Regions from separate parts of the Homo sapiens genome. Here region 1 is linked to region 2. The links are contacts of gene promoters, found by promoter capture Hi-C in human tissues and cell types (Jung and others, 2019). All regions are on one chromosome and are shown on one strand. Each heading gives the region's core, a stretch centred on a gene start or on the middle of the fragment in contact. The rest is flanking DNA. Distances are from core to core; before and after follow the strand shown.

Region 1 (3,489 bases), core at 513-3,012, 86 kb after region 2:
AGAGGGTTAAATCACCAAGCCAGCTGGTGAGCATTAGTTCCCCCCTCTCCAGGCAGTAACGTCAGAGGCTGATGCTGGCGGCAAAGAAGCTGGTGGCAGGAGGAGGCGGAGAGCTGCCTTGAGGCACTCCGGGGGTGGGCTCCTGGCCTGGGACCCTGCCCCAGCAACCCCCAGGTAGGCTGGCTGTGGATGTGTGGGCTCCGGACACCCTGCGGGGACGGCTGCTGTCCACGCCAGTGTGTGGACGTGTGTGCACACCCTGTGTGTCTGTGTTTCTTCTCTTTGTGAGAGTTAGCCTTCTGCTGTGGCAAAAACTTCAGTGGAGAAGGAAAGAGTGAGCGCTGGAGAGGGTAGCTTTTTTTCTAGTGGGAAGGGGACTGACTTCTTTAAACAAACACTCAAGTGTTCCAGTGGCCACGGAGCAGGCAGATGTGGGCCACACTGCATCTTCCAGGGTTTCTCTATGCCACTTGGGGTGCAGTCTTGAGTGGCCAGAGGAGCAGTTTGCTGAGGTGGCTTAAGAACATGTTTTCTCATCTGTCTGTGACCAGGAGGCGTTTCGAAGGGCTTGCCATGTGCCGACTCAGTAACTAGTGTGTGGCCTCCCGGTGGTTTCAGATGCCTTGCCAAGGCCGACCCACCCACCTCCTCGAGGAAATGCAAAAAGTGTTTTCAGGGCCCAGAACACTAAGCCTGGGATGATCTGCTCCTCCCTGACTGGCAGCCTGTCTTGCGTGGGCGGCTGAGCTCGCAGCCACCAGGACCTGATGGGGACAGTGTTTCCTGGGGCCTCTGTACGGGGGAGGTTCTCTCGAGTTGCAAAGGTGCAGATGCGCCAGGAGGGTTCTTGGCCCCTAGGCTTCATGGATAGAGTTTACTAGGACAAGCAAAGGCCTGGTGTGCGATCTGTTTTCCTATTTGACTGGATGTTGGGAGAAAAATGTCCAAATTAGGGATGGGCCCATGGCTCAGCTGAGCAGAACACTGGGTGAACTTCTACTGTGAAAGAAATAGCAGATCCGGCGGACATTTATGGGCGACAGAGAAGGGTAGCTCAGCATTGAGGAGGGAGTTTGGTCTCATTCTGGCCGAGACTGTCAAATCCTCGGATGGGCTTGTAAACCAGCTCCTGGCCTAGCCTCATCAAACGTGAGGATGAGGAAGAGAGAGCCTGGTGGGCCCTGGGGAGGGGACCTGCACTCTCAGTGGGACACCTGGTGACCAGTAAGCCTGGTCCACTGCCCTTCCTCACCCTCTCGTCTTTCTAATAAACAGAGGGGAGGTGCCTGTGCATAGACTTGGGGACTATTACATTGACTCAGAAAGACCCTCTTTTCCCTTTTGCCCCAACCAGTGCTTTACGAGGTTGCCTAAGCCTGTGCTGCGACCCCCAGAGGCAGGTGCAACCCCATTTTACAGATGGGGATGCTGAGGCTCTTCACCAGGGCCGCCCAGCTGGATGGCAGTGGGGTGGGTCACACCGAGCCTCCTTTCCCCTGGGCTGGGCTGCCACCCGAGGCCCCCACTATGTGTTCCTGTTTGCCTTTGACTCCACGGGGGCCGGGAGAAAGTGGCACTGGGGATGCCACCAGGCTGCTTGTCAACTGGCCTTTGCTGTGTTCCACACCTCTGACATGGAGGTGAGGCTGTGGTGGCTAAGACCGGGCGGTGGGCCGAGTTCATGTTCCTGCTATGCCAGTGATAGCTGGACGAGACCTAGAGCAAGGCTGTGAACTCTTGTGGCCTTGGAGTTCTTGTCTGTGCAGCATCCTTTCGGGTGCAAGGATTGTTACAAGGGTTGAGTGAGCTGTTATCAGCGAAGCACTGAACAGTGTCTGGAAGGTGATAAACTCAACAAAGTGTCTCTGGAGTTAGAGCAGCCTTCTTGTGGTCCCTGGACCCAGCAGTGTGCTATGGGCATAGTGCCCTGCACAGCGGGTCCAGCTCAAGGGACAGGGACAAAATGACCTTTTCAGAAGCGTGTTAGGAAACAGCCCGATGGGCCCTAAGGCTCCAGAACCTTTGTGTTCCCTGAATCCTGACCCTCACAGGGTCCTTGCATGAACTTGACACAATTAATACCAAGAGAGATGGTGCTGTCCCCATTCCACCCCTTTGCATGTGGCTGAAGGTCACAAGGATAGCAAATGGAAATGCCTCCGCAAATCACCTGTTTACTATTTTTCTGATTATTAAAGTGATTGAAAATGTGATGACTGTGGAAAAGCCCAATGAACATATCATTATGTTCTTCCCTGATTCCACCTCCCAAGGATGACCCTCACTCACATGTTAGTATGTTTCTTTCCAGTTCTTTCTTTCCATGCCATACTTCCCTTCCAATGGAAGGTTCAATTAAGGACGTTAAAATACAACAACAAAACACACAAAAGTAACTCCCTGGGCTTTTGAAATTCAAAGCTTCAGAGGAAATGGTACGAATGCAACCCAAATGGCAAATTTCCCATCTGATTTTATTTTCAGTACACTCTGAACCCATCTTCTGCCCCTTACCCTAGCTCTTCCTCAGGCAACCTTGAGTTTCCTTCTCTAAGGGGAATCTTGCAGGAGTGGTCTAGGACTGGGAGGCTGAGGGGGCATTGGAGGAGACACCTGGACAGGTGTGCACAGAGGTGGATGTGAGAGGTGGATGAAGGACATCCCAACAGGGAACCTGCTCCCACCCCCTGCACCCCCCGCCACCCGGCTGTGTGTTTCCCAGGCGAGGCTGTGTTTGACATGCAGCGGCCGCACACCGTCTTTGGTATGCCGTTTGGTCCCGGACTTAATGAGTTCTGCAGGGACGCTCCACTGTAGCTAAAGATCATTTACCTGAATTGCTTTTTAATTTCTGCCGTGGGAAGCTGCCCCCGGTGTGATATAATTACATTATAATTTACAGCAATCCCAAATCTATAAATTTAGCCATACAGTGGGGGGAAGGGACTGGAGTTGTGTGTGGGGCTGGGGGAGAAATCCCCCCCATCATTAAGTAAACCCACATTTCTGGGTGCAGGTTCCAGTCCCTGGGCAGGTGTGGAGGAGGCAGAGAGGGACATCACTCGCCCAGTACACGCTGAAGTGTGCTTTAACACCACAGAGCATTCGGGCTGGAGCTGCTAGTGGGAGAGGATGAGAGAGTGATGTGACATTCTTTCTGATCTGCCCTCTTATAGCATTTTTGCTGTGGGATGTGGGGAGCACACAGAAGTGGGTAGCCTGGGGACATCTATGGAATGCCTAGCATTGGAAGGCAGGGATCGGAATCCTTCCCTGATTCTCTTATGGGAAGATCTCCCGGCTGTGGGCTGTGGAGAGGAGAGCTGGGCCTCAGGGTGGAGTCCCGGGGATGTCTCTGGGCAGATGGAGCCACTCCCTGGGAGCTTGTGGCATGTGCGGAAGTGAAGCCGTGTGGGATTCCGATAGGCCTAGGCGAAGGCGCAGTACCATGCAGGCCAAGGGAGGGGTTTCCTTTCTGCACCCACAAAA
Region 2 (3,667 bases), core at 1,040-3,539:
TTGAGCTGGTCTGAGAAGAAAAACAGAGAAGAAGGAAATATCCTAAAACATTGATTTGTTTAAACTTCTTCACAAACTTTACAACACAAGGAAATCAACAGAGACAAGCTCATAATGAAGTAATCAGCCAACGCGGCTAATATTCCAGCAATGAGAAATGATTCCCTACATGTCATGGGGCAGATATGAATAGGGTCATTAAAATATGGCCAAGGAGGGGAGGGAGAGTTTACTTTTTCTGTCTCCTTAGAGTCTGTGTTCTGAAAGCTCAGCAGGAATTTAAACAAATAGCACGGAGGAATGGTGAATCTGATCATCTTTAAAGAAAAAGCCCCTTTCAAACTTCTCTTTAAATCATTGGCTTATGCAAGTTTCGCTTTTTAAAAATGCTGCCGACCTTTTCCCCCCAAACAAAATTAGCATCAAATTGTTCTAATATTTTTCTGCATATTTTTTTCTCTAGGTCAAGAAGAAATTGTTGCTCCATCATATAAGTGAATGTCAGGAGGAGGAAGGAGGATCTTAAGGAATGAAGTTCTAATGCATCCTCTTTGATTAAAAAGTAAAAGAATAAAGTTAGCAGAGGATAAAAGGTATATGGAGAGAGCCACCCACAAAAAGGGTTGCACCGGTGAAATGGGCCTGTGTAGGTCACATCCCCTCAGGGAGGGTAGCATTGGGTCCCTTGCATTTCAAATAAAATGCAATTTTAGGAACAGGGGCTGAAGGGAGAGACACTTCCACCCACCTCAACAGGGCAATTTTTTAAAAATTTAATTTAATTAATTTATTTTTTTGAGACAGAGTCTCGCTCCATCACCCAGGCTGGAGTGCAGTGGCGCCATCATGGCTCACTGCAACCTCCATCTCCCAAGGGGTTTGAGAGATTCTCCAGCCTCAGTCTCCCAAGTAGCCGGGATTACAGGCGCGCGCTACTATCCCTGGCTAATTTTTTGTATTTTTAGTAGAGACGGGGTTTCACCATGTTGGCCAGGCTGGTCTTGAACTCCTGACCTCAGGTGATCCCCGTGCCTCGGCCTCCCAAAGTGCTAGGATTACAAGCGTGAGCCACCGCGCCCGGCCCAACAGGGCAAATTTAACTGAACTTACAGTACAACCACCCGAAGCTCTGGGAGGATGGCAGAGTGCTCTGACCTTAGACTAGTTACTTAACTTTTTAAAGCATCAGACTTCCCACCTGTAAAAACACGAGAAGAGAACCTTCCTTACAGAGCTGTGAAAGTCCAATAATACAAAGAAAATATAACATCACCTGGCACTTGGTAGAGTGTTCTACAAACGTTAGGAAGAATAAAACCAGAAATTCCCCCCAAGACCCTCTTCGGGTGAGGCCCAGGGGCCCTGGAGAGGGTGGCAGGCCCGGGGGTGTGGGGAGGACACTTTAGCCAGCTGCCCCCAATTCTCCTCCAAGCCTGGCGGCCCAGTTCCGGGCTGTGGTGTGGCTTGAGGGCCCAGGGCTCCTCACTGAGCTTGCTTAAGCAAGTTCTTTCACACACAGCCCCATATACACTTTGGCTAGAAAATTCAATGAGGAGTTTTTTCTTCCTTCTTTCTCTGTTGTTGTTGGGTTCTGATTACTTCCATCTGGCTTCAGCGGCTCGAGTGGAGTCTCTAAAACACACAACACAACAAAACAAAAACCCACCCTGCAAGCCACATGCACCAAACCTAGAAGGCTGCTTCGTTTCTCGCCAGCGTGTGCTCAGATGGCGACGAGGGCTAGCGGCGGCGGGGGACGCCTCAGGACCCCCGGCACCTGCGCTCGCTGCCCGCGGGAAGAGGGTCCGCGTGGACCCAGCCCCCGCGTCCCTTCTCTGGCGTCCCCGGCTTCCGCGCGGGCGTCCAGAGAAGCGGGCGCCCTGGGAACAGCGACCCAGGCATCTCCCCGAGGAGGGAAGTGGGAGGTGGGGAGGGCGGGGGGATTTCAGAGATTGAAAACAGAGCAGCCCTTGCCCCTCAGCTCCGGAGCTCATCTGACTTGAGTTAGCGACACCCCCAACCCCCCCCCCCACACCTAGTCGTCTAAAAAAAGTGTCGGAGATTGGCGCGTCCTTTGGTTCCTTTCTCGAACTTTCCTTGTAGGTGCGTTTTCTTTCCTTGGTGCTGGGTGGGGAGAGTCCCTGTGCTCCCCCTTTCCCCTCCCCCCGCCCCGGCGGCGTTCGGGTCCCCCTGCGTCCCCCGGCAGGGAGCGGGCGGGCTGGCTGGCGGGTTCTTGGGGCCCGGGTGTGCCCGCACCGTGCGCGCGGGGGCGCTGCGCAGTCCGGCGGCGCTGATGGATTGCAGAAGTGCCGGCGCTTGCCAGCCGAGGCAGCACGGCTCCGCGGACTTTTTTTCAAACTCCCATCAATGAGACTTCGAGGAGGAGCGGGCGGCGGCGGCGGCTGCGACTGCGAACGCGGAGGAAGGCCAGGAGCCGCAGGAGGAGCCGGAGGAAAGAGCTTGGGCCGCGCGGCGCGCCGCAGCCTCGGGGAGCCGCCTGCTCGCCGGCGGTAGGGGCTGCGCGGCGCCCGCCCGCCTCTCGGTCCCCTCTCTTGCCTGGCCCGCCCCGCCCCGGCTGGCTGGAGCCCCGGCACAAGGCAGCCAGCCGAGGGTCGCCGCGCCAGCCAAGGTGGGATGGGGGCCCACAGCCACCGCCCGGCGCCCGAGAGGCCACCTGCGTGCTAGAGGCAAACTTTTGTCTCTCTCGGTAAAGTTGCATTGGCCTTCTTTTGCTTGCTTTTCGTGACGAAGCGCCTCCCACCTCGGCCAAGCGCGGGCCGACTGGGATGCTGCGCCGTCTCGGGGGGTCCCTCGGCCGGGTACCGGCGCCTAGGCCTTGGGATCGGGGCCCTGGGCTTCGGGGGACTAGAGGCTAGTAGGCGCGACCCCGCCTGGGGCTCTGGACGAGCAGGGCGGGGACGTAAGGAGAGTCCTGGGGCTTGGAGCTCGTGGCCAGAGGTCGATGTTGCACCCTCTCCCTACCTGGGGGAGAGCACCACTCTTCTCGGGGTGCACAGCGAGCCGGCCTCCGCGCGCCGGCGGGGGTCTGTTTTTTCAGGGGGTGGAGGGTGGGATCGGAGGCTGGGATGCTCCGAAGCTGCCGTAGGTGGGCATGGGAGCGTGTCTGCGGGCGTACTGAGCGCGGAGGGGCTGCAGCCAGCCACTTGAGAACTTCGAACTCCACTTCTCCGCGCTGCGCGTCCCGGAGCCCTGCCTTTCTTTCTTCCTTCCTCAATCCTTCCTCCCCCTCGCCCGGCCCGGCCGCCCCCTCCCCCTCTGCTGGGCTCTCCTCCTCGGCCCCCCCTCTTTGCCTCTCTTCTCCTCCTCTCCTGCCCTCGGCCCTGAGATCCGCTTGACTTCCCAAAGGGATCCGCACGTAATCCTTTGCCGGGTCCTCCGGTTCCCCCTTCCACCTCACTTTCATCCCTGCCCCCCTACTCATCGTCTCTCCCCACCCCCGACAATCTCTCAACAAGTATATTTGCTGAGGAATTTGAAAAATCCACTACTGCAACTTGATCTGTATGTGATGGATGGGGAGAGGCGCGGAGAGAGTTGGGCGCCAATCCTATTAAGGGTTTAGAGAGGGGAGTCTTTTCCCCGGACGGGGCGGGGGCGGGGAGCTGGGAGGGAGCGTGTGCTTGCGTGTGTGAGTGTGAGCGCGCCC

What was found. Contacts are between HindIII fragments. The study calls those that stand out against the background at their distance.
Region 1: a contact is called between a fragment that was not itself captured here and the fragment with the promoter of GLI2 in region 2, in 3 of the 25 tissues and cell types used here (H1 embryonic stem cells, mesendoderm cells and thymus).

What each region holds. Positions count from the first base shown.
Region 1 is chr2:120,820,389-120,823,877 of GRCh38, forward strand. All of the region lies in intron 2 of GLI2 (GLI family zinc finger 2), which reads left to right. Among named protein-coding and RNA genes, the nearest start is that of GLI2, 86 kb to the left of the region's middle. RefSeq lists enhancers at 1,416-2,081, 2,918-3,489 and a silencer at 3,214-3,425. The HindIII fragment of the contact is 6,634 bases long and covers 1-3,489 here.
Region 2 is chr2:120,733,579-120,737,245 of GRCh38, forward strand. It overlaps GLI2 (GLI family zinc finger 2), which reads left to right and starts at 2,290. Exons shown (of 14, transcript NM_001374353.1): 1 at 2,290-2,707. It overlaps LOC124906073 (a long non-coding RNA gene), which reads left to right. Exons shown (of 3, transcript XR_007087219.1): 3 at 464-1,272. LOC124907881 (a long non-coding RNA gene) reads right to left here. Exons shown (of 2, transcript XR_007087221.1): 1 at 2,983-3,667; 2 at 1-10. RefSeq lists enhancers at 919-1,566, 2,206-2,375, 3,494-3,667. The HindIII fragment of the contact is 8,822 bases long and covers 1-3,667 here.